Regions from separate parts of the Homo sapiens genome. Here region 1 is linked to region 2. Evidence: promoter capture Hi-C in 16 types of primary human blood cells and fetal thymus (Javierre and others, 2016). All regions are on one chromosome and are shown on one strand. The core of a region is centred on a gene start or on the middle of the fragment in contact, and the rest is flanking DNA. Distances in the headings are between cores, read along the strand shown. Region 1 overlaps HECTD2-AS1 (HECTD2 antisense RNA 1). Region 2 holds the start of PPP1R3C (protein phosphatase 1 regulatory subunit 3C).

Evidence for each region. The method cuts DNA at HindIII sites, captures the fragments that hold promoters and counts their contacts. A CHiCAGO score of 5 or more calls a contact.
Region 1: a contact is called between a fragment that was not itself captured here and the fragment with the promoter of PPP1R3C in region 2, in 1 of 17 cell types (endothelial precursors). The highest score is 6.8, in endothelial precursors.

What each region holds. Positions count from the first base shown.
Region 1 is chr10:91,544,848-91,550,866 of GRCh38, reverse strand. All of the region lies in intron 1 of HECTD2-AS1 (HECTD2 antisense RNA 1), which reads left to right. It also overlaps the pseudogene RPS27P1. Among named protein-coding and RNA genes, the nearest start is that of HECTD2-AS1, 64 kb to the left of the region's middle. The HindIII fragment of the contact is 1,686 bases long and covers 635-2,320 here.
Region 2 is chr10:91,631,682-91,637,950 of GRCh38, reverse strand. PPP1R3C (protein phosphatase 1 regulatory subunit 3C) reads left to right here and starts at 4,880. Exons shown (of 2, transcript NM_005398.7): 1 at 4,880-4,995. The coding sequence starts at 4,982. RefSeq lists enhancers at 4,248-4,747, 4,748-5,249 and a silencer at 4,774-4,913. The HindIII fragment of the contact is 3,050 bases long and covers 2,857-5,906 here.

The sequences.
Region 1 (6,019 bases), core at 228-2,727, 84 kb after region 2:
AAACACAGGAGCATTCACCCTTCTTCAGAGGGCAAGCTTACTGGCCGGAGGCATCATGCTGGCCATCCTGCCACTGGCATTTGGAATTGTCCTCCCCATACTTTCTCTCCATGGTATTACAGTCTCTTTTTCCCACAGAATAAGAGGTCAAGGAGGGTAGGTTTGAATGAGATTATCAGTAAAATGTTTTACCATTTGGATTTCTGTTCAAATTGTAATAAGCATCTTTATCACAATGAGTCAGAGAATCTGGTTGCAAGTGACAAAACCCCTACAGATGTCTTTAGGTGTCCTCATTGTTCTGATAAGTACATCTTTCAGTGAAATACCAATTTGTGTGGCAGACACTGTGTCACTTTCCACAGCCATACCACTCTTCCTCTCCACTGACAGAACCCCAAGGTGACCAGTTCCCAGAAGATGAATCATGCTTGGTCTAAGACCATGGTGTCTGTCTGCGTCAGGGTCCCCAAGATCAACCCAAGGCCAGTGATTTGCTAGGAAGACTCACAGGACTCAGCATATAGTCACACTCATGGCTAAGATTTATTACAATACAATGATACACTCAAAGCAAAATCAGCAAAGGGGAAACGTGCATGGAGCAAGGTCTACAGGAAATCAGACACAAGCTTCTAAGAGTTCTCTCCTATTGGAGTCATGCAGGCCACGCTTCATTTCTCCAGGGAGGTGTGACAGTACATGTGAAATGTTGCCTCTCAGTGAAGCTCATTAGAGACTCAGTGCCCAGGGTTTCTAACGGGGGCTGGTCACACAGGCACCCTTTACCTAGTATATACCAACATTCCAGACCTCCAGAAAAGACAAGCAGGTGTTCAGCACATACCATATTGTTTGCATGCACAGTTTCAGCACAGTGAACCATGGTTATCAGTTTTGACAATAGTGGGGCCCCTCCCAAAATCCAAGTTCCCAGATGCCAACCAAAGGCCAACCTCGTAAGCAGGCCTTCCTAAGAATAGCTGTCTCAGGCCTATTATGTTAACTCTTTTCTGCATACAATCAATGCTTTTTTTTTTTTTTGATACAGAGTCTTGCTCTGTTGCCCAGCCTGGAGTTCAGTGGCATGATCTTGGCTCACTGCAACCTCCACCTCCCGGGTTCAACTGATTCTTGTGCCTCAGCCTCCTAAGTAGCTGGGATTACAGGTGTGTGCCACCATACTTGTCCAATTTTTGTATTTTTTTGTAGAGATGGGTTTCGCCATGTTGGCTAGGCTGGTCTTGAACTCGTGACCTCAAGTGATTCACCCACCTTGGCCTCCCAAAGTCCTGGGATTACAGGTGTAATCCCAGTGCCTGGCCTGCATACAATCAATTTTATGTCTGACACTTGCTTACTCAGCCTCCCTTGCATCTATGAGTGGCCACATGACTCAGTCGTAGCCAATAAATTCCAAGGGGAAAGTGTTGTGATAATATCTGGAATCCTGGCAGTCATCTTATGACAAGTGCAAGGACAAAACCCCAATATATCAAAGGCAGCATAGGGAAAGGTGAAAAGAAATGGGGTCTTTGGTAATACCTTTAAGTCAATGCACCATTCCAGGGACAAAATATTGCCACACTTTTTTTTTTTGGTTGTTGTTATGTGAGATAATTAAATGTATTTGTTGCTTGAGTAATTTTGAGTGGGGTTAAGTTGAATGCAGGTCAGATGCGCTCCTGACATAATGTGTTCCTCTCTATTATGGACTGCCTTGTGGCCCCTGCCCCCAAAATTGGTATGTTGAAGCCCTAACTTCCAATATCTCTGAATGTGACTGTGTTTGGAGATCAGGCCTTTGAAGAGGTGATTAAGTTAAAATGAGGCTGTTGGGGTAGGGCTCTACTCCAATCTGACTAGTGTCCTTATAAGGAGAGAAAATTGGGAGTCACACATGTGCATGCTCAGAACAAAGACCCTGTGAGGGCACGGCAACAAGAAGGCCACCTACAAGCCAAGGCAAGAGACTCATTAAAAACCAAACCTGCCAACACCTTCGTCTTAGACTTCTCACCTCCAGAACTGTAAGAAAATCAACTTCTGTTGTTTAAGACACCCAGTTTGTGGCATTCTATTTTGTGAATTCTAGCAACCTAATGTGCTTTCCATGTGTAGATATGGAAAGGGCAAGCCTGGCAAATTATAACTGACAAAAGTGGAAACACACATGAAATGGTCAGATCTGGTGGTCACATACAACACCCAGGCAAGAAAAGGATCCAGGCGGGGGAGCCAAGAGAATGGACTGGCCAGATGCCCCCACAGGAGAGCCGGCTGCACCCACTCAATCTCTCATCTTCCAGAGGCTAAAGCTTCTACACAACTGTACTAATTATAATGAGATAGTAAAGAGGCAGCAGGTTCAGGGGTGTCCAGTCTTTTGGTTTCCCTGAGCCACATTGGAAAAAGAATTGTCTTGGGACACACATAAAATACACGAACGATAACTGATGAGCTAAAAAAAAATTGTCAAAAATATCTCTTAATGTTTTCAGAAAGTTTACATTCAAAGCTGTCCTGGGCTGCATGCAGCCTGCAGGCTGTGGACTGGACAAGCGTGAGGTAAATGGTAAATGGAGATAGGATATCTGGTGACCATAGTTAATGCACAAAAGAGAGAATGGGGAGGCCCTAGTGAAGGGACAAATGCAGAGAGAAGAAAAAGTCTGTATTCCTGGAAATGTTGATAAATCAGATTTCTCTTTGTGTCACTGGGGCTTGGATAAGCCACAGCAGGTTATGGGCTTTCTGTGGAGGCACGGTTCTAAGGTAAGAATCAAGTGACAGCAGTTACTACTGTGTGGCTTTTGACTCATTACTAGGGAAGATGGCCAATTTCATGTGGGCTGCCTTGGATATGTCCTTCTGGTCAGACCTGAGTTGGTCCTACTAATTTGGGGCTTTTTGAAGGACACTATCTGGTCCCACATGTTGGCTAAGGTGTGAGTGAGGCAGAGTAGCCACAAAACCAACTCAGATTAATTGAAGCAAAAAAGAGGAATTTATTGGCTTATGTAACTAGCAAGTCGAGTTTCACTGGATCAAGGGGCTCATCTGGGTTGGTTTTCTTCCTCTGCCTCTCTGTTCGTCTTTCCTCTATATGGCTTCACTCCTTTGACTGGCTCTCCCTCCATGACTGTCAAGAAAGCTGCTGGTACTCCTGCCAAAAGTGTGTAAATGGAATCTAACTATGAGGAAGAACCAACAAACCTACACCAAGAAACATTTTACAAAACAACTGGCCTATCTTTTTTTTTAAAAAAGTCAATGTCATAAAAGACATAGAAAGGCTAAAGTGCTCTTCAGTTAAATAAGACTAAAGAGATATGAAAACTAAATGCAATATGCCATCCTGGATCCTGGATGAGACAGATGGGAAAAATCCATTATAACAGACATTATTAAGACAATTAGTAGAACTTTAAAATGCACTGTGTATTAGATAAGAAGATTGTTTCAATGTCAAATTTGCTGAATTTGGTCATTGTATTGTGATTATGTAAAAGAGTATCCTTGTTCCTAAGAGGTAAATGCAAAGTATTTAAGGATAAAGGATCATGATGTCTACAATATGCTCTCAAATAGCTCAGTCATGACAACAAAAATCCTATATTACATAATGTAATAAAGTAATATGAACAGAGAAGGTGAGAGAGAGAAAGTGATTGATAAAGCAAATATAGCCAAATGTTAATCTAGGTGAAGGGCATACTAAAATCATTATATGATTATTGCTACTTTTTCATGGTTGAATATTTATTTATTTATTTTTTGAGATGGAGTCTCACTCTGTCACCCAGACTGGAGTGCAGTGGCATGATCTCAACTCACTGCAACCTCTGCCTCCTCAGTTCAAGTGATTATCCTGCCTCAGCCTCCCAAATAGCTGGGATTACAGGCACCGCCACCATGCCCAACTAATTTTTGTATTTTTTTTTTTTTTTACAAGAGACAGGGTTTCACCATGTTGGCCAGGCTGGTCTCAAACTCCTGACCTCAAGTGATCTGTCTGCCTCAGCCTCCCAAAGTGCTGGGATTACAGGCATGAGCCACCGTGCCCGGCCTTCATGCTTGAATTATTTTACATTTAAATTTATTTTAAAAAGATGTTGACGACAGACCTCTGTCTCTTACCATCCATGTATCAATCTTAGGAAAGAGTCTAATTGGTTAGCCTGGAACACGTGGTCTAACCCTGTGACTGACAGCCTCACCAGGTATCATATGAAACGGAGAGGAACTCCCCAAAGAATCACAACCTCTCTCAGTCTTTTCTTTTACAGCTCCTGGTCTCCCAGATCCTCCTCTGCTGGTCACTCAATGCCCACATGCCACCTGGCTCCATCTTCCCAAGCCATCCCTTCCTTCAAAATGGCACCAGACAAAGACAGATTTTTCTCAACCAATAGCTCCACATTTGAGCCTTTTTATGATTCCTTTCTCCCCTCAACATTCCCATCTGTACCCAAATTCCTCTTGGTCCTACTTTCTTTTAGCTCACTGATAAAGGAATCTGTGTTCATGTGAAAAGTGTTACCAAGAGTTACCTTTGTGCTCTTACCTTGAGTTTACAGATCCATATTTTAACTGGTCTTTAATCCAGGGAAGAGAAGCCAATGGCAGGAGTTTCACACTCAGAAGCAGTCCAAGGAGATGAATGATTTGGGGCAGGTGGGCCTCTGGCTTCTTTTGCATCTTGCTGTGTTGGTGGTTTTTTTCTTTATCTCAGGCCAGAGTTTCTGACAGGGAGGCCGACTGCTGTCCCTCTCGGTTGGAGAAAGCCAGAGTAGCCAAAAGGAACTAGGCCAATGTCACTTCATTTCCTATCAAGCAATTTTGACAACTGATTTGTTCCCAACCAGTAAAGCAGAGTTAGCAGTGAGGTTGCTGGAACTCAGTCAGTGTGGTCTTGGCATGGCTACCTCTGCATTCAGCCTTTTTGAGAACAAGGCAAGATTTAGGGAGTCCATTTGATGAGGGTGAAACTCGTAAGGCTAAATGAAGAAAATTCATTCATTTATTATATATTAATCCATTAATTTATTTATGAAAGACTGAATTGCATAGTTTTTAAGGTAGGCCCACATGTACATTCTTCAAGGTTGTTCTGTGTGTTCTGCACAACGTCAGGGGTGTGGTTCACAAGGATGGTACAGAGCAGCCCTAAGTGAGGGCACTTGCTCTAAGATTGCATTTCCTGGTTTACAATTAGTCTCCACCACCTCCAACTGTGTGACCGTAGGCTAGATTCTTCACTGAGCCTGTTACCCAGTGGTCTCATATGTAGAGTGAGGATGATCCCTGCCTCAGAGGGTTAGCATGAGGATTAAGTGAGTGAATGCATTCCAAGTATTCTGGAACACATTCAATAGCATTGTGATTACCCATTACGTTAAATTCAAGGGTTGGTAGAATACTCCTGGGAAGCCATCTGGGTGTAGGGCCTTTGTATGTGTGTGTGAGAGAATGGGTGGGTAGGTTTTTCCTGGACATTTAAAGTCAGATCCCAGACAGCATCTTCTTTCACTCATAATATATGCAATATATGCCTGTATATTGCAAATATTTCAATATATGCCTGTAATAGAAAAGGAAAAAAGCAAAACCCACCAATAAAGAATGCCATTATTACATATATAATTAATAATTCCTAAATACCACTAATATCAAGTCCTTATTCAAATTTTCCTGACTTTCTCAATTTTTGTATCCAAAACATGTTTATTGGGATGGTTTCCCACTCTTGTTGATTCAGGGTGCCTTCAGTGCTGCTCTGTCAGAGGAGCATCCTTCTGTGAGCCTTGCTTTTCCTTCTGCAAACTGGCTAAGAGTAGCAGAGCACTCAACACCCAAAACCGCAATGTGTGCGTGGCCGAAGACCGAGGCAACTGTGTCACATCCTGGGCATCTTACATCTATGCAGTAGGAATTGGGGCTTAACCCTGAGTGCTTCTTGGGTTCCTTCATCTCTGCCTGAGAGGGATGAAGGTGATCTTTTTCAAGAGCCTTATTC
Region 2 (6,269 bases), core at 3,631-6,130:
AGTCTGCCTAGAAAAAAAAACCTCTCTCCTTTGACCTCTCCTCCTCATGCTCCCCAGCCAGAATCCTCACCTTTAGCCAAATTCTTCTCCTTGTAGTTACTCAATAAGTCCTGGTCCTCTTTGGCCATCCTGACCCCCAGAGGCTTCTCCTTTCTCTAAAGTCCTGAAGCATGTGTAGCAAATGTGTGTAATATTCACATGATCCATTTGCCACTAAGTCAACCTGATACAGTTATATCATTCTTTTTTTTCATCCGCCCTCCCCTCTCCTTTTCCTCACCTCACCTGAGATACCTACATGTTTCAGGCGGCATCCTGCACTTTCTTTTCTTTTCTTTTTTTTTTTTTTTGAGAGGGAGTCTCACTCTGTCACCCAGGCTGGAGTGCAGTGGCGCGATCTCGGTTCACTGCAACCTCCGCCTCCTGGGTTCAAGTGATTCTCATGCCTCAGCCTCCCGAGTAGCTGGGATTACAGGTGCCCAGCACCACTCCCAGCTAATTTTTTTATTTTTTAGTAGAGAAGGGGTTTGACTATGTTGGCCAGGCTGGTCTTGAACTGCTGACCTCAAATGATCCACCCACGTTGGCCTCCCAAGTGCTGGGATTACAGGTGTGAGCCACCTCACCCAGGCCTGCACTTTCTTTAACCCCTTATTTTGCTAACACTTATGCTTTTCCACCACACCTAGACCATTGTCTGCTCTTACTGGACTATTTTACAAATGGGGTTTGAGGTAAAAACTAAAAAATTTCCAGTAGTGAAAATTATACTTGAAAATCCCTTTAGTGCAAACGGAATGGCTGGTAGCATAGTCTACTTGGCAACAAGCAGATTTGTTAGTCCTTTCACTTCCCCACTTGCCTCTGGGAATATGCCCTTTGAGTGGAACGGTGGGTGGCTGGCACCGTTTCAATGGTGATCTTATTTGCTCTCTTATTTGCTGAGCCACAAAGTTGTATTCTAGTCATCTAAATGCCCTAAAGATGATAGCACATCATATTTAAGTTCTTCCCATTTTCCTGGCCTTCCCAATTCCCGCTACCTCCTTGAAGCTTCCACAGATATTCCACAGCGAGCCTTCTCCTTTCGGGATCTCTTTGGCCTTCGGAGCTGCTTTTTGGTCTTGGTAGCTACCAGTGTGGTGCTTGTCTTTTTCAGAGCAACTCACATACTAGGAGCGTGGATTCTAGAGGGGCTTGAAACCTGATCCTGTCACCTACTAGCTGTGTGATCTTGGACAATTGGCACCTTCGATGTCTTCACGTTCCTCATCTGTGAAATGGGTTTCTACCTCACCGGATTCTTATAAAGATTACATGAGTTAATATTTCTAAGTGCTTAAAACAGTGCCGAGCCCAAAGTAAGCAGTATATGTTTTTCAGGTTGTATCCTTTTACTTAATATTGGAGTTCCTGTTGAATGTAGCTAAAGAAGGAAGAAGAAAATAGTGTACAAGAGCGCTTACTATTAACTGAGACAAATGAATTGGCACCTTTTTTGTTCTCCAAAATGCAAAACCTGCTCCTTTTAATAATAATTAAAAAAAAAAAAAACCAGTTCGCAACTTCCCTGACTCTTTCACTGAAACTCCGTAAGTGATCTTCAAGATCACTTACGAGGTTTCTCTCAGTTACCACTAACTGTGGTTAAAGTACTGACATTTTTATATTAATAACTATGAGGCTGAATTCTCAAGTACTTTCTTGATTAGGCACTGAAAAAAGACAAGCTTGCAGAAAATGAGTTGGCAACTTGGCAACCCCCCAGGGTGTTTTTCCAAAGGCAGCTCTCAGGCAACGTGTTGAGTGAATGCTGTAAGAGACCCACTTGTGTAAGCCCCACAATTATCAGCTCCTTGCTTAGTAGCTTCTTAAAATGTCTGCTGGGTATTCTATGAATTTGTTTTTCTGTAATAATGATTGTAACCTCCTCAAGGTCAAAGGATTATGACTGCTCAGACTTTGTAACCCCTGGCATGGAGCTGGAACTACTGCATAGCTCAATAATTTCCTGCTGATAGATTGATTGTTAAGATGGGTAGGACCAAGCAATGTTTAGATGCTGCCAAACCACAGTGGGAGAAATCCTACGAATAATAGTACAACTCCCCACGATTCCTTTCTACTCTGTCTTCATTGGTGCAACCTACAACTAAGAACACTGATTCCATCCTAGTTTCTCTCATCCAATAATGAAGGGGAGCAAAAGCTGGGAAGGAGACAGAAGTGAAAAGCCTGGATCATCCAATTTAGAGGTTTATTGAGTGAGTGTTGAGTCCTTTTAGGAGAAAGCATGGTCTCCCTGAATCTTCCATTTGAAGGAGCTGAAAGGGAGAGTGACTTCTATGGCATTAGTCAACACCAGGGGGCAGGAGAGAAAGCTGTATGAATGGAACAGGCTGAAAGGGTGGTGTGAGTAAATGGCACAAGCATGTGAAAATTTCCACCACGGTTCTTGGCACCTAGCAGTACGCTATATGTGTTAGTTGAATCCCAGAGTTTTAACGCCCTTGAAAAATTATTTCTTAATTAGGTCGTGTATGTTCATTGTAGAAAAATTAAGAAAAACAACAGAGCAGCAAAACAACGAAGACATTTTTAATCACTCATAATCTCACCATTCCAAAATGAACTGTTCACATTTCTGTAGAGCACATTCTGTTTTCTATGCATGGATACCTTTCCCTCAAAATGCGATCACCATAAATTGTTATTCATGTTTCTCCATAGTTTTAACTGGTAATATTTACTATTTAGCTCAACATATAATCATGGGTAGAGGAAAAGAATACCCAGGGTTCTAGTTTTGGCTCAGACCTAGCCAGCCCCTGGCAAGCAGCTTGACCTGTCTAAGCTTTCAGTTCCTCATCTGTGAAATAAAGAGTTTGATGCCTATCACCTCCTACCTCCATAATTCTAACCATTGATGGGTCATTAAAATAAGACAATATGGTGCAGCGGTTATTGCTCTGGTATCAGCCAGGCTCTAATCCCTGCTCTACCTGTGAGAACCTGGGCAGGTTTTTTTTTTGTTTTTTGTTTTCGAGATAGAGTCTCGCTCTGTTGCCCAGGCTGGAGTGCAGTGGTGCAATCTCAGCTCACTGCAACCTCCGCCTCCCGGGTTCAAGCGATTCTCCTGCCTCAGCCTCCAGAGTAGCTGAGAGTACAGGTGTGCACCACCATGCCCGGCTAATTTTTGTATTTTTAGTAGAGATAGGGTTTCACCATGTTGGCCAGGCTGGTCTTGAACTCCTGGCCTCAAGTGATCCACTGGGCAGATTTCCTGACCATTCAGTGTCTCCGTTTTCTTTTCTCTAAAATGGGATTAATAATTGGACATATCACATAGGGTTGTTGTGAGGATTGAATTGATAGCACATAGTGTTTGGCACAGAGTAAAGGCTCAACAAGCAGCAGCTATTCTCAATATTTTAGCTCAGGCACCAGGCGCCTTGAGGTGATAGAGTAAAAACTCTAGCTGAGAGATCAAGTAGAAACTTGGGAACTAGCCCGGGTGGAACACAGGCACTGGGCATCGTGCTGAGTCTGTTCATTGGCACCATCTTACTTCATCTTCAGAACGTTACTATCTCTGTTTTACACATGAGGAAACTGAGGTTAGAACTTGCCTAGATTCGTGTAGCTAGTAAGTGTCAATCCAAAGACCTTCCAGCTAGTTTTGGTTGAGCTAAAGGGGCTAGAAGACCTGCCATTAGTTAGATATTTCATTTCAAAAATAAAACCCAGGCATGAAGTCCCTTTCCCAGTGATATTCAGTGTGATTTTTTTCTTCACTCTAATAATTTTAACAATTCCACTGTTTGACAGTTGTTTAAAAGACATAGGAATTTTTGTATATTTTAATTGACTAATGGATAGCTCAATTAGGGGAGCAAAACTAGGATGTGGGTTTTATAAAAATAATTTAGACTTGACTTAGACATTTAATTTTACAGTTGTAAATGATGGTCTAAAAATTCTTCAAACTAATCAAAATAATGAAACTTCAGCGAAAGTGAGTGGCTCAGAAGGCCCATGAAACATACGGCGTGATTTTTTAAATTTTATTTTAACATTTTGATTTCCACACCACTGCCAAAGGACGTCAGAATTGAGTAAGGGGTTTGGGTTGACTGCTGCCTCTTGACCGGCTGTATGTGTGAAAAGGGTCATTTCACTTCCGGCTTTAGTGTTCCCCGCAGGGGAGAAAATTGAAGAATAGACAGAAATACGAAGTGTCTTTTAATTAAATGCCACCTTGGTGTTTTATGGGGCTCGTATGCTTTCCTAACAACATTTGTTAGATAAGTTGGTAATTCCCGGCAGCTGTCTACTGTGTGGTGCATCTGTGAACTCATACTAATCGAAAAGCATGCAGCCAGTTTGGGATCGCGCAGGCTAAGGTGAGGGAGAAATGCGGATACACCGGGTAATGAACGATATAAACATTTCAAATGCGATACACATTCGGTTTGAGCCACATCTTCTGTGTGCAGATTCACCCGCAGTGACCCACAAAGCTATTCCCAAGTAACAGCCGCCCCAAGCCTGAGGCACTGGCGCCCCGCCTGGGCGAGGCTGGCTGCGCTCTCTCTTGGCCGGCGCCCGCTGCATGCGGTACGTGCCTGCCCGGCCCCTAGCCCAGGGTTCCCGTTACGCGGCTGGTTCCAGCTGGCCGCGGAGTCCCAGAACCTCCCCGCGATGCCCAGATAGCTCTCTGCACGTCTCGCCCCGGGGCGATCACGTTGCCGGGGCGAGGGCTGGCGCCCCAGCTGGGCGCTGGTTGGTCGCGCCCTGGGGCTCGAGGCCCGGCGATTGGTCCCAGGGATCGGGTCACGTGCTTGGGAGCAGATAAGCGGCCTCTAGGCGCCGGGCCCTCAGTCTCTCCCAGCGACCGCCGCGGGGGCAAGGCCTGGAGCTGTGGTTCGAATTTGTGCAGGCAGCGGGTGCTGGCTTTTAGGGTCCGCCGCCTCTCTGCCTAATGAGCTGCACCAGGTAGGTTCGCTGCAACTCTGCGCGCTAGGAACACAGGGGAACGCGCAGCTGTGGGGAAGTTGGGGGGCGTTTCAGTTCTATCATCTCTGGAAATGGACACCCCAGGGGGAGGACAAGTGGACTGACTGCGTAGTTGAATCTGGCAACCGAGAGGCCTTGGAGGTGTAGAAATTTGGCTCTATTTCTTAAGCAGAGCCTATTTTAGTAATCAGCATCTTAAAGCAGAAATTATCTTAACGTGAATCAGCTTGAGTTAGGATTTTCTCATGGATGCGGCTGTTCTTTTGGTCCTGCACAAATGTCCCAAAGACTCGGGCAGCTGAAGTGGTGAGAACAGCACTCTGACATTGCTGGTTAGGTGGTTTAGCTTGGAGGAAAAAAATTACAGGACGACGTTTGCATTCATTCGTCCTTCTTATCACAGTTTGCCATAGCAAAATCTCAAGAGTTTGAGCAAACGATTACTTTTAACTCTTGTCCAGGACTTAAAGTTCCAAGGAAATCACCCAAACTAAAACTGTCTTTCTATAAATGCAAAAAGTAAAAAAAAAAAAACAAAAAAACCAAAAAAAACCTCCCATAAAACTACTTTAAATAGCTTCTCCAGACATAGCTTAGCAGAAGACTTCTCTAAAAATCCTGCCTATTAACTATTATTAGACCCACAAATATAGCTTTAGCTTTCATTTGTTTGTTCTAAGTTTGCAGATCTCCCAGAAAAACCCCAGAGCTAACACAGTAAATTCTGCGAGTGTTATTACACACTTTTGTGATAATGACCACTTGCATACATGTTTAGAGCTGCTGTGAGGAGAGTTACTAAAGCCAGACTGAGAAATGTCGTGTACAGTATACACACACCTCTTACTTGTAAGGCTAAGATAGGGAAAAAAATCTTAATACCATAAGCTTGGAAATATATGATGAGGGCTAAAGGTCAGAGAAAAGTCTTCTTTATAGATGCTTCTTGGTTTAATATTGCTGAGCATAGTCATGTTTAAAACTTTAAATGGTTTTATTGTCTTTCTACTTATAAATGTCTATTAGAAAATGCCAAAAAAGAACAAAAACGAAAATAGATAATCTATAATCCTATCACCCAGAAATAATAATTATTAAATTATTAGGAAAGGTGTATTTCCTATAGAGTTTTTCAATATTTATAAGTTTGTATATATAAAATGTATATTTTAAAACACTCCAACTTTCAGGTAATCAGTTTTTCCACTTAAATGTGGACTTGTCATGGGCATCTCTTTAGGTGAATTATCAAT